Regions from separate parts of the Homo sapiens genome. Here region 2 is linked to region 1. Evidence: promoter capture Hi-C in 16 types of primary human blood cells and fetal thymus (Javierre and others, 2016). All regions are on one chromosome and are shown on one strand. Each heading gives the region's core, a stretch centred on a gene start or on the middle of the fragment in contact. The rest is flanking DNA. Distances are from core to core; before and after follow the strand shown.

Region 1 (7,251 bases), core at 3,113-5,612:
TGCCTAACAAACTCACAAATACATTAACATTCACAGAAGGGTATCTTCAGACCATTCATTCACTACATAATGAAAACAATGTGCTGGATTTGATTGACGGTCTCTTATAATGTTGCAATATTTTGGTTTTATTAAAATTCTTTCTTGGGAATGTCATGACAATCTTTTGGCTAAATGGTAGTATTATGAGATGTTTCAAAAACCAATAGTAAAGCATACTTTGGTTTTCAACTAACTTACCAGGGTAAGTATTGATGCAGCTACTAGAGGCATTCATTTCACCAACGATATTCAATGCTTCTGCTCCCCCTCCCCTTACTTCCACTGATCACTTTTCCTTTTCCATACCCAGGGGTATTATAAACCTCACTGCTGACACCCCACATGAGGGTAAGCAAACTTTTTCTGTAAACACCAGAGAGCAAATATGGAGTTTTCGGGGCAATATACTGTGTGTGACAACTATTAAACTCTGCCATCGTCACCTGCAATGAACAATACTTAAAAAAAAAAAAAAAAGAATGAGCACAGCTGTGTTCCAATAAAATTTTATTTATGGACACTGAAATTTGAATTTCACATAATTCTCACGTGTCACAAAATAATTCTTTTGATTCTTTTCCAACCATTTAAAAAATGTAAAGAACATTCTTAGCTCTCAGGCTACACAAAAATATGGCTATACTTTGTCAACCATCCCTAGACCCTGAACAGCATTTCTGAATTAGTAACACTTAGGTGTCCTAAAAAACAGGTTTGGGATAGCTGTGTGTTAAGGAGTCCCTAAAAAATTCATAATGCCAATTAGCATAATAAAGGCTCTAAGCCTTGCGGTTAAGAAAGCAAGCTTAACTTCCGTCAGCTCAGCTAGTCCTTCCTTTTTCCTAGTATTAAGTTGCAACAGTTTGAAAAATATTTAAATAAGAATAGTCAAGTCAAACTTCCTGGGATGACTAAAATGATAGCTAAGGTTTAAAACAGACATCCAAGTTCCTGAAACTAATAAAGCCACAACATGACTTCAGCTATGCCATCAGAAACTGAAAGTATCTAGAGGAGAACAATGATAAAATAAAGTGTATACATGCTCTGAAAAAAAGTCACTTTAGTACTCTAGTTCTACATTAATTTGTATTATATTTGAACTCACAGATGTGAAAGGAAAACAAAGAGTTCCCACAAGTTTGCCAATCTCAATTTGGTAAGCCACTGTCTACTTCCAAACCTAACTACTCATTTTAGTTAATGACAGATGGGTATTTACTCCCATAAAGTTTAAGAATAATCGGTGTTAAAATAGGAAGCTAAAAATCAGGTGCATGAGAAAATTATTTCCAAGTTTACTAACATGAAAACTGGGAAGCTCTTTGATACCTGCACAACACTGCAGCTCCCATTATGACATTACAAAAAACATACAGGACCATACCCCAAATTGGCCATATAAACACAAAGTCAAACTAAATTACATTTAGAATGTCATTCAAAACTACCGTTTAAAAAATGTAATTTTAGCAAGTCAAAATTTCAATTTCAACTTGTTTTCTCAAGTAAACTTTTTGCGATAATATTCAAATTAGTTTGGAAATAACTTTTAGCAGACTCAGAATCAATAAGGATGTGATTTTAGGTTTCAGGATATAATCAAACTTCCAAAGTAGATGTCAAAAAAAAAACACCTTGAAGAAAATAGCAGTATTTTGGAAAGTGAATGTGAATCTCAATCAGCTGGCTTAAACAATTCCAATAATTCCAGTCGTTTTACTACAACAGTCCAATTAATTTAAACTTGAGATAATGTGGAGCCAACTGTATTAACCAACGCTACAGATATGCCAATGAAAAGTCGTTTACAAAGGATCACAATTCTGAATAAGTGTGCTTTAAAGGGGAGGAACATGGTATAGTCCCCAATTGTTCACATACATGCCCAAGATTATTTTGACATTGAGATATAGTACTTTAATTCCCAAACCTAGCACTGTATTAATTCACTCCCTCGACTGAAATGTATTGCTGGTTAGCTCCTTAATGACCTTATTTTGAAATGGCTTTATTAGTTAAGTACAGAATCCATTTCAATTTCCAATGATACCATTTCACTAAAAGACAAATTCCAAAAATGTCAACCACCAGTAGCTCATTCTTGACATTGGCTGTTTCCTTTTTTTTTTCCCAAAGTAAAGCCTAACAATTAATCAACAAATGCCTTTTCAATCTAATTAAAACACAGTTTAGTAAGGTCATTAAATAAATTTATCTAAGAATTTCCGTAAAAACTCACTACAACTCTAAAACAGTATGTCCTTAAATTAGACCAAATATTTAATAGCAAAAATGGTAGCTTGCATATTCGAGGGTCACTCCATGGATTTAGAAAATATTTTTAAATGTGACAAAAAAAAAAAAACACTAAAGTCAGTTTCAAATGGAAGTCACCAAATACAGAGGTATATACTTCGGTTTTTTAAGCTACTGATAACGAGACATTTAAATCAAGCTATGGAAAGGCTTTGTCTAAAGGGTGATATTATTACTAAAGGCTCACACAGAAATCTTTGCATGCTACACACAAAGGAAACATTTACACTTCTAGTCCACAAAAGCCTATCCTAGGATTGTGCCAGGGGCACACAAGGATTTCAAAGTACAGAAAAAACTGGGCATACACATGCCCTACAAAGCAGCCAAAAGACATTCCCCAGTCTCTCTCAGGAAATGTTTCAAGATGAAAAGCAAAAGTCTGAAGTCCCTTGGAATCTTGGGTTGATTTCTTCATTATTCTCAAGGCTAGGTTGTTTTCCCCCAGCATACTTTGTTGGGCAAAAATAAAACATTTCCAAATAAAAGCAACTCCTCAGCCCCAATTTTCAATGCAATATGCTTATTAAAAGTTCAACATTTCTCAAGGTCTAGACTTATAGTGTGATCATATTACAGTACTCGGGAAGAGCATTTTCTTTGTTGTTGACCCTGCTAGGGAAACAGGTCTTGACTCAGCCAAAGTGGCGTTCTTGTGGGTGATTAATGACAGGCCTAGATCTCGCCCTAGTGACATCCATCCCCCACCCCCCACCCCCACTATACTAAAATCAGCCGTGTCTGAACTGAAGGAGGGGCTGTAGCCTCGCCTCAAACCACCCAGTCCCAGAGTTAATAGCTGCAACCAATCGATTACGGCAAGCACACATCCAGATTGGGGTGAAATGTGACCCTTTCGCCTAAATTTACGAATAATATCGTCCTCTCTGATCATTTCCGCTGGGGCTCCAGCGACTACGGAAACAATTCCAATCATTCGGCCCAAAGAAAAAGATGTCCCTGTTCTACCCAATACGGGCAAGGCAAAGCCCCTACCCACCTCCAAACACTATCCCCTTGACATCAGCCCATTTCTATTGTGTCTTATTAGGTCCTCGGGCTACGAGGACCTAGTGAAAAACGTGGCTGCCCTACTACTTTGCTAAGAACAAGAACCACACAGTCCGGCACCCCCACCCCAGGGGCCGCATCCCACACCCCAGGACCCCTGTTCCCAGTTCTCTCCACTACCCCGGCGGCCGCGGGGCCGGGTCCCACCTGTGGTGAGGCGGGAGGAGACGTCGCCGAAGGGGGATGGCTCCATTCGGAGATACTTCTGCGGCGAGGCGGCCGCAGCGGAGAAGGAGGCGGCGGTGGCCGCGGCCGCCGACAACGGGGAGGCAGCGGCCGAGGTGGGCGCCGACAATGGCGCACATCGCCTGCGCTTCGGGGACGCCGGGCTCAACAGCGGGTCGAAATCCAGAGTCCTTTTCAGAGTGGCTCCGCACGCCATGGCCGGGGGCAGCTGAGGCGCCGGGCTCGGGTGGGGTCGGGGACGGGTGACGAAAGAAGAGGGTGAGGGAAGGGGTGAAGAGCGGGAACTCGAGGAGAGCCTACCCGACGGGCTCAGGAGCCAAGCGGGTCGCGGAGCGCCGGCTGTGGAAAGGAGAGCCGCTGCCGCCGCTGCCTCCGCGGCAGGGGCAGTGGCCAGGGACGGCCCGGGTGAGAGCGGGAGGGGCGGTGGCGGGCAGAAGCACACGCCAGTCGCGTCAGGGGGGTTCTTCCGCCTCCTCAGGCGCGGCTCCCCCGAGAGAGGCTCCGGCCGCCCCCGCCGTCCGCTCGAGCTTTGCGCCGCGCCTGAGGCGCTTCTGTGCTGAGACTAGATCCTTTCTGAAGTCGAAAACAGCACCGTGGGGTGTGAGGCTGGAACGCGGCTCCTAATACGCCCGAGTACGGTCAGTAGCTTGCGAGCGGCGATCGATGCAGAGAGATTGCGAGGTAGCTGCCGCAGCAGGAACCCAAGCGAACACGTCCAACCGCTTCCCCTCCCTCGTAGAACTCTCCCACCCGCCGCCGGCCCCAATATGGCGTCAATAACAACGCCGCCGATTCAAATCCGGCGGCCTCAGAGCGCTTGCGCACGGGGGCGGGCCAAACCGGGGATGCATTTTGGGAGTTGTAGTTTTTAGGTACCGGGAGGAATCGGCTTGAAAGGCGGGAAGGGAGGAGTCACAGAAACTACGACTTCCGTCATGCAAGGCGCGCGATTCCGAGTTCCGGGTTGGAATTTAAATCCCCCTACACAGCTTGAGTGTAAGAGGAACTAAGCAAAAGAGAAAAAAAGAGAAGGTTCTGAGACAGTGGGAGATGGGAAAGCGAACCCGTGGCAAAAGCAGGCTAAGCGACATAGAAATCTTTTAAGATTCTCCGTATAGTTGCTCCCACAGTGATTTCAGATCTGGGAAATATAATAAACCAATCTCTAGTCAAAGTTAGCTTAATTTCGGTAGCGACAGTACCCAAAACAAGACCTTTCACATGGAGAGGATAGGAGATAATGAGATTATGAAACCTATTTAGGACTGGCAGACAGAACAACAGTAATAGTATCAGGTTACAGGATCCTTGATTCAACTCGATGCTCTACCCTTCGGAGGTAGCTGCTTCATCCACTAATGAAATTCTGTAAAGCCAGCTTTGCTTCTGTAAATGAATAGGACTTGAACGACTTACAGAATCAAATTGTTTTGCGTTGGGTAAAAAGCAAGTGGTATCAGACATTGCATTACTTCTGTTGAATATTGGTGCATATATTGTGAACTTTGTTACAAAACTAATCAAAAGACAGTGAAATGTTTAGGTAATAGATATTGGATGGATCCATTTTGTAAGCGGAAGGGGAAAAAAGTGTTTCTAGAAGTTGTACTTTTAGTCACATACCTAAAATAAGAATCAAATACAGCGCTAATTTAGAAAGTGATCTGTGTAGCCGGGCATGGTGACTCACGCCTGTTATCCCAGCACTTTGGGAGGCCGAGGCAGGCGGATCTTCCTGAGGTCAGGAGTTCGAGACCAGCCTGGTCAAAATGGTGAAACCCCGTCTCTACTAAAAATACAAAATTAGCCGAGCGTGGTGGCGCGCGCCTGTAGTCGCAGCTACTCGGGAGGCTAAGACAGGAGAATCATTTGAACCCGGGAGGCGAAGGTTGCAGTGAGCCGAGATGTTGCCACTGCACTCCAGCCTGGGTGATAGAGCGAGTCTCTGTCTGAAAAAAATGAAAAGAAAAGAAAATGATGCCGGGCGCGGTGGCTAACGCCTGTAATCCCAGCACTGGGAGGCCGAGGCAGGCGGATCACGAGGTCAGGAGTTCGAGACCAGCCTGTTCAACATGGTGATACCCTGTCTCTACTAAAAATAAAAAAAATTAGCCGGGCGTGGTGGCGCACACCTATAGTCCCAGCTACTCAGGAGGCTGAGGCAGAAGAATCGCTTGAACCCGGGAGGCGGAGGTTGCAGTGAGCCAAGATCAAGCTACTGCACTCCAGCCTGGGTGACAGAGCTAGACTTCGTCTCAAAAAAAAAAAAAAAAAAAAAAAGTGATATATGTAGAAACTATCACCAGTGCAATATGAAACAATTTTGTGAATGCCAACTGTCAAATGATTATAAATACTGATTTCCAGTGCTCATGTATTCTTCTTTATTCAGTAACAGATGTTTTATAGCCATTTTGTCTATTATTTTTAAACCATATTTAGAAGTAGTTCAATATATTCTTTTTTATAGACAATTTTATAGAATTGTCCAGTGCTTCAGAGATCAGCAGTCCTGATCACACTGTGTCAACAAGTAAGCCCTTCTAGTTTTAATTTAGGATATTTGGAAATATCCTACATTTCCTACATTTGGAAAATCTTTTGAAAAAGATAAGCATTTAATGAAACAGCAGCTTAACTAAGACACCTACTAGGTAAATTTCTAGTAAATTCTAAACACTTGGTAATATTTTCTGAAATTAAGATTTGCCCATAAGTTATAAAACCTACATTTGAAATGTGATGTTGTGAGTTAAATTCCCTATGTTTGAGGGAATTCAAGGACTTCAAAATTCATATGAAGTCCTAACCTCCAGTACCTTAGAATATGACTTTACTTAGGAATAGGATTATTTCAAATGTAATTAGCTAAATGTAGTAGGATGGGCCCCTAATCCAATATGACTGGTATTCTTATACAAAAAAGGAAATTTGGGCCAGGTGCGGTGGCTCACACCTGTAATCCCAGCACTTTGGAAGGCCGAGGTGGGAGGATCACTTGAGGCCAGGAGTTTGAGGCTAGCCTGGGCAATGATAAGAAACCTCATCTCTACAAAAATTTTTAAAAAATTAACTAGGCATGGTGGTGGTCACCTGTGGTCCCAGCTACTCGGGGCAGCTGAGGTGAGAGGATTGCATGAGCCCAGAAGGTTGAGGCTGCAGTAAGCTGTAATCACACCACCACACTCCGGCCAGGGTGTCATAGCCAGACCCTGTCTCAAAAAAAAAAAAAAAAAAAAGAAAAGAAAAAAAGGCCAGGGTGAAGGGGAGACTGGGTGGGGGTGGGAATTTGAACCCAGGCATGGGCCCAAGGGAATTTTGACCCACATGAACATGAACATGAAAATAGAGATTAGGGTGATGCTTCTACAAGCCAAGGAATGCCAAAGATTGCCAGCAAAACACCAGAAGCTAGGAGAGAAGTTGTTCTCCCTCAGTCCTCAGAAGGAACCAACCCTGAAAACACCTTCTCAGAGTTGTATTCTCTAGACCATGAGACAATAAATTTCTGTAGGTTAAGCCATCCAGTTTGTGGTACTTTGTTATGGCAACTGTAAGAAACTAATACAGAGAGGATTGTGGTTATCAGGCTATCATTTGAAATATACCAGAATGCCTAGAAAATGAGGAAAG
Region 2 (7,251 bases), core at 1,909-4,408, 1.1 Mb after region 1:
CAGCTTTAAAACCTGAACTCTAAAATACTATTCTATACAAATAATAAGTTTATACCAATCACTATATATCACTGACATTGTACTCAAGAGTTTGCAATTTCCAGAGTACAGACTACTTTTGTAATTCTAGCTTTTGACAATGACCATGGTTTTAGGTCACAAGTTAGTTAATATAAAGCCATCATGTTTTTAAAACAACAAATAGCTCTCAGATGAAAATCTATATTGTGTATAAAACTCAACACAATATAAATTGCTAAGATATACAAAAGTTATATTAGGCCATGATAAATCAATGTTAATATATCTCAAATTTTCAGAAATGATAATAGGAGATAAGAAGAGCAAAGTATGGATTTTAATTGCCATCAACAGGGCACTCAACACATAGAACAGATTTTTCTATTTGTATTAAATTTCAATCTAACAGAAATCTATACTATTAGCACCTCATTAAAGTCAAACTCAAAAACATACCTAGAATGCCTAAGTCTTCATTTCTTAGAAAACTACTGCAGTCATTTTCAAAGACTATTATTTATATTATACCTTCAAGATATTCTATTCCATTTTAGGCTTTGTAGAAATATTTGGAAGTACAATCAAAGATATGAGCTTCTCTCATGGTGTTTTAACAGCTTAGTCCCACTTCACTAGTGCATGCTTAATGATTCAGAGACATAGCTACTCCCCTTTCGAACTAGTATAGACATATTTCTTACAGTGTTCTCTAAAATACTGAGTTAATGCTAAGCATTAGATATAAACTCATTTATTCAGTAAAGACTGCTATAATGCACAACATTCTTTACATTTAGAAAAAGCATATTACTCTGGCTAACCGAATATGTTTTATGTAATAGTTACCATGTTATATTTCATATTAAATATTCTATTTTTGAAAATTGACTCCCATTACACAAATAATGTACATACACTGATGTAAATTGCATATTCCTATCTGAAAATCACCTTAGAGAAACATTTGGATGAGTTTTAAAGATGCACTAGACTCAAAAGTAATTCCATTTTTTAGGAAGAAGACATTAAATAGGTAAAATTTTAAAAGAACAAAATATATTTAAAACGTACTATGAATAAAGGCAAAACTAGGATGACAAACTACTAAACTGAATTACATCATGCTATGTTTAATTACAATAGGAAACTGCAAGAAAAAATAACATTTTTTACTACTAGAGAAATGAGTATTCTATGTTTAGCCTCAGGAAGCCTTTAAGTGCCACTAAGAACTGACTGTAAAAGGCAAAAGTAAGTTGTTTTTAAAAAACCCAATGAAACAATCCGAGAGTCTATACTCTTTAACCAAATACAAATATAGCATTAAGAAAAATAGAAGATTTAGTAATGAAGCAGTTTAACAAAATTTTACTTCATCTTTGAAGTCTTATTTTTCGAAGAACTATATTCACTTGTGTCAAAAAAAAAAAAAAAAAAAAAAAAAACAGCGTAGCCCCACTAGAATTAGTTTCTTAGCCTCAATTTTTCTAATAGTGAGATGGTCTTCTGTAAGGCACTTCCAGAAGAACATATCAAACCTACACCCAACTTGCATGATTAGTGATAAACAATCCCACATTTGACTGGCAACTGAGAAAATCTGTACACTGGGCACTTTGTCAGGAAGACTAATCTTGAATGTTCAACATATCAATATTTATCCAATGTTTAGATAAGAGAAAGACATTTTTGAAACTATCCTGAAAGTCATTCCTGTGTGTGTATTCCAGCTATTCCTATAGCCTCAAATTTATCTATCCTTGGATTATAATCAGACTCATATAGAGCTCAATATATTCTTGGGGGTTCCAGATAATTGTTCTAACAACTTTTTGCCATTAAGTCCCAATTGTAAATTAAGCCACAAACATTTAGGGATAGTGTGTGTGTGTGTGTGTGTGTTTCTTTTTCTTTCTTTTTTTTTTGAGACAGAGACTTGCTCTGGGCTCAAGCAATCCTGCCACCTCAGCCTCCCAAGTAGCTGGAACCACAGGCATGCACCACCATACCCGGCTAATTTTTGTTTGTTTTAGAAACAGGGCCTCCTTATTTTGCCCAGACTGGTCTCAAATTCCTGGCCTCAAGTGATCCTCCCACCTTGGCCTCCCAAAGTGCTGGAATTACAGGCATGAGCCACTGCACCCAGCCTCAAATAAAATGTTAAATACCCTGTTGTTTGAAAACGAATACCCACATGCTTTATTAAACCCACCTTTTCACTTAAGATTCACCACAATGCACAGTTTCCTTTCTTTGATAATGCATAGTTTCTTAATATATTTTAATCTTTTGGAGTCTGGACTCCATATATCCCCTGTTCCATCAGCTAGCAAAAATGCTATCTGTGCTTTACCTTTGATAAGTAAAAATTTCACAGGATGCACTGGTAAGCTTTAATCTCTTTGCTAGTATTATCTTATTTACTTTCTCTTTCTGATTTCCTTGATTAAGGATTTCTTATTTTGTTGTAATGTATTTACTTAGCCAAGATACTTAAAAAGTTATAGAACAAAAGTGAAATAAAAACAAGGCTTTGGAAAAATGTTGAAAATATTCATGCTAAAGCATCTTTTATTCTAAGATAGCAACCAAAAAGTCATAAAAGGAAGATTAACCAATAAATTTAAAAATTAACACTTAATAGACATTATAAAAAATCTTAATGAAAGTCAACAGTTAACTTACCCTACAAAAGTATAGAAAATATTTGCTCTGCAAATGCAAACATGAAGTAATTTCCTTCAAAGTAAAAAAGACTTATTTCGATATGCTTAATTATAATACCAATGATCATATCTTATATCTAGATCTATAATTCATATAAGAGAATTATTTTTCAGTAAAATCTCAAAATTTAGTAAAATTTTCACTTTACAATTTAACAAAGTTCTTTTCTTTGGGGGGAGGTGTGCGGCGGGGGAAGTGGTCTCACTCTGTCACCCAGGCTGGAGTGCAGCAGGGTGCAGTCTCAGCTCACTGCTACCTCTGCCTCCCAGGCTCAAACAATCCTCCCACCTCAGCCTCCCGAGTAGCTGGGACCACAGGTATGTGCCAACAAGCCCAACTAATTTTTCTATTTTTGGTAGAGGGGGGTTTCGTCATGTTGCCCAGGCTACTCTCAAACTCCTGTGCTCAAGCAATCTGCCTATCTTGGCCTCCCAAAGTGCTAGGATTACAGGCATGAGCCACCACGCCCAGCCAAAATTCGTTTTTTAATATTATTATTACCTTTTATATTGTTGTTATTAATATAATTATATTAATGAAAATGATTTTAAAACAAAGATCAGTAAACTTTAAAGGAAACTGCTATATGTTAGCTGACACAGGTCAAAGGAGTAATCTCTGAAAACGAAATTGTTGTATAAGTATATATGTAAAATATCTTGTAAAATAAAGTATTTTAGTTTCTTTCTTTAAAGTATTGTAAAGTATATATGAAATACCCTGTAAAAGGTGAAGCCTTACACAAACAGTATTATTTCATGCAAAAAGTACAAAAGTGCATACTTACCCTTCTCCTCCCATTCTTGTTATTTTTAGACGAAAATCCACAGAATTCAGACTGGGAGGCTTCCATTTCAAAATATCATCACATCGACCAGGTTTGTATTTCTAAAGCCAATTAAAATGATGACAATCGTTACTAAGAAGTTAAAAATTAAACATTCAATGTATTAAACCTAATGTAACTTTTTATTAAGCAAAATTACTTCTTTTCTAAACATAATTTTAATCTTCAACCAACAAGTCAGGCTAGATATCTACCTTCTTATTGATGACCTTTCTTCTTTTCCTACCAAAGACATGTAGACCCTTGTTTGTGAAAGTCCAGAAAAAGAATAAAACCAGTGATTCTATCCAACCTTCCTATGACTTAAAAGAAGCTTCATTTTTAAAAATGCTTTTTTTTCTTGTTCAGCTTTATGGAGGGATAATTTATAATGAATAAAATTAACCAACAAATCTTGACAAATATATACAGTTACGTAACCATGACCAAAATCATGATATTGAACATTTCAAGGATGTGAAAAAATTTCTTGCTACCATTTGCAGTCAATTCCCTCCGTCAGCATTCTGGCAACAGTGATCTGCTTTCTACGACTACAGTTGTACCTTTTCTAGCTACATAAGAAATACTTTAAAAATAAAAAATAAAGAAACACTTTATGTAAGATTTTTGAGATGAATCTATCCTGGTGCATATACTAGTAGTATGTTCCTTTTCATTGCTGACTAGGATTCCATTGTATGTATATACCACAAATTGTTTACACATTTACAAGGTGATGGATATCTGGGTTGTTTCCAGTTTTTGGCTATCATGAATGATGCTGCTCTGAACATTTGTATTGACATGTTTTCCTAACTCTTGGGTAAATAACTAGGAGAGTGGAATGACTGTATCACATGGCAAATGCATGTTTAGCTTTGTAAGAACTGTCAAACTGTAACATTTTCTATTCCTACCAGAAATGAATGAGAAGTCCATTTGCTCCATATCCGCCTTGGACTAGGCATTGTCAGTCTTCTTAATTTAGCCTTTCTAAAGTGTGTGTCTCATCATTTTAATTGGCATTTCTCTAATGACACAAAGATGGTGAAGATCTTTTCTTTTGTTTATTGCTATCTGTATACCTTCTTTGGTGAAGTGTCTGTTCAAATCTTTTACTCTTGTTTGCACTGAGCTGTTTGACTCATTACTGCCTTGTAAGAAGTTACTTACATATTGTAAATAAATAGTCTTGGTTGGATATATGTATTACAAATATTTTCTACAAGTCTTTGGCTTTTTCATTTTCTAAATAATTTCTTTTGAAGACCAAAGTTCTTTATTTTAGTAATGTCAAAATTATCCATTTAAAAATTATATAATTTGTGCTTTTTGTGACCTATTTAAGGAATATTTTCCTAAAGTCATTACAATTTTCTACTATGTTTTCTTAGACAAGTTTTATGGTTTCAGCTGTTATTTTTAGGTATACAAACTACTTCAGCTTATTAATTTCTATGGTATGAAGCACAGGACTGTATGTATGTATGTGTGTGTGTGTATATATATATATATATATATATATATATATATATACACACACACACACACACACAATTTCTTTTCTCACTAATCTGTTGCATTAACATATATGTCTTTCTTCCTGCTAATAGAATAGTCTCAATTACTATAACTTTATACATTTTGAAAACAGGCTGTGTAAGTCCTCAGACTTTTATTCTCCTTTTTCAAAACACTTTTAGCTAATGTAGCATTTACATTTCCACATACATTTTAAAATCAGCTTGCCAATTTCTATGAAAAATAAGCCTGCTGAGATTTTAATGAGGATTACACTGAATCAATCAATAGGTTAGGGAAGAAATGACATCTTAACCAAATTGAATTTTCTGATTCATAAACACTGTAAATCTCTCCATTTACTCATCCTTAAATGAATCTTAACAATGTTCTGTAGTATTCAGTATAGAGATCTTGCATGGCTTTTGTTAAATGTATTCCTAATAATTTACTATTTTTGGTGAAATTATCAACGCAAAAATTCAGTTTTGCTTCTATACACCAGCAATAAAAATCAAAAGAAAAAAAAGGAAAGGACATTTTTAAAAACTTACAGTAGGGTTAGGCACGGTGGCTCACGCCTGTAATTCCAGCACTTTGGGAGGTAGAGGTGTGAGGACAGCTTGAGCCCAGGAGTTCGAGATCAGCCTGGGCAAGAAAGCAAGACCTTATCTCTACAAAAAAATTTAATAATTAGCCAAATATAGTGGCACATGCCTGTAGTCCCGGCTCCTTAGGAGACTGAGGTGGGAGGATTGCTTGAGCCTGGGAGGTCAAGGCTATAGTGAGCCATGATCATACCACTGCACTCCAGCCTGAGCAACAGAGTGAAACTCTGTCTCAAAAAAAAAAAATGTGCAATAGCATCTAGAGGAACAAAATATGTAGGAATTAATTTAACCAAGGTGAATCATCTGTATACTGAACACTGATTTCTTTAAAAAAAAAAAAAGATGGAAAGACATCATATGTTCATGGATAGGAAGACTCAATGTGTTAAGATGTCAATACTCCCAGAACAATCTACAGATTCAGTGCAATCTCTAAGAAAATTCCAACAGCGTTTTCCACAGAAATGAAAATGTGCTCTTCAAATTCAAGTAAAATTTCAACAGACCTAAAGAGTCAAACAAATGGGATCTAATTAAACTAAAGAGCTTCTGCACAGCAAAAGAAACTACCATCAGAGTGAACAGGCAACCTACAAAATGGGAGAAAATTTTCGCAACCTATTCATCTGACAAAGGGCTAATATCCAGAATCTACAATGAACTCAAACAAATTTACAAGAAAAAAAAAGACCCCATCAAAAAGTGGCCGAAGGACATGAACAGACACTTCTCAAAAGAAGATATTTATGCAGCCAAAAAACACATGAAAAAATGCTCACCATCACTGGCCATCAGAGAAATGCAAATCAAAACCACAATGAGATATCATCTCACACCAGTTAGAATGGCAATCATTAAAAAGTCAGGAAACAACAGGTGCTGGAGAGGATGTGGAAAAATAGGAACACTTTTACACTGTTGGTGGGACTGTAAACTAGTTCAACCATTGTGGAAGTCAGTGTGGTGATTCTTCAGGGATCTAGAACTAGAAATACCATTTGACCCAGCCATCCCATTACTGGGTATATACCCAAAGGACTATAAATCATGCTGCTATAAAGACACATGCACACGTATGTTTATTGCGGCATTATTCACAATAGCAAAGACTTGGAACCAACCCAAATGTCCAACAATGATAGACTGGATTAAGAAAATGTGGCACATATACACCATGGAATACTATGCAGCCATAAAAAATGATGAGTTCATGCCCTTTGTAGGGACATGGATGAAATTGGAAATCATCATTCTCAGTAAACTATCGCAAGAACAAAAAAACAAACACCGCATATTCTCACTCATAGGTGGGAATTGAACAATGAGAACACATGGACACAGGAAGGGGAACATCACACTCTGGGGACTGTTGTGGGGTGGGGGGAGGGGGGAGGGATAGCATCGGGAGATATACCTAATGCTAGATGACGAGTTAGTGGGTGCAGCGCACCAGCATGGCACATGTATACATATGTAACTAACCTGCACATTGTGCACATGTACCCTAAAACTTAAAGTATAATAATAATAAATAAATAAAAA

Evidence for each region. The method cuts DNA at HindIII sites, captures the fragments that hold promoters and counts their contacts. A CHiCAGO score of 5 or more calls a contact.
Region 2: a contact is called between a fragment that was not itself captured here and the fragment with the promoter of AKIRIN2 in region 1, in 1 of 17 cell types (total B cells). The highest score is 8.0, in total B cells.

What each region holds. Positions count from the first base shown.
Region 1 is chr6:87,697,871-87,705,121 of GRCh38, forward strand. AKIRIN2 (akirin 2) reads right to left here and starts at 4,363. Exons shown (of 5, transcript NM_018064.4): 1 at 3,580-4,363. The coding sequence starts at 3,814. RefSeq lists enhancers at 619-1,138, 4,255-4,314, 4,625-4,934 and silencers at 3,535-3,744, 3,925-4,094. The HindIII fragment of the contact is 11,354 bases long and covers 846-7,251 here.
Region 2 is chr6:88,766,239-88,773,489 of GRCh38, forward strand. RNGTT (RNA guanylyltransferase and 5'-phosphatase) reads right to left here. Exons shown (of 16, transcript NM_003800.5): 13 at 3,536-3,636. Among named protein-coding and RNA genes, the nearest start is that of RNGTT, 190 kb to the right of the region's middle. The HindIII fragment of the contact is 1,496 bases long and covers 2,411-3,906 here.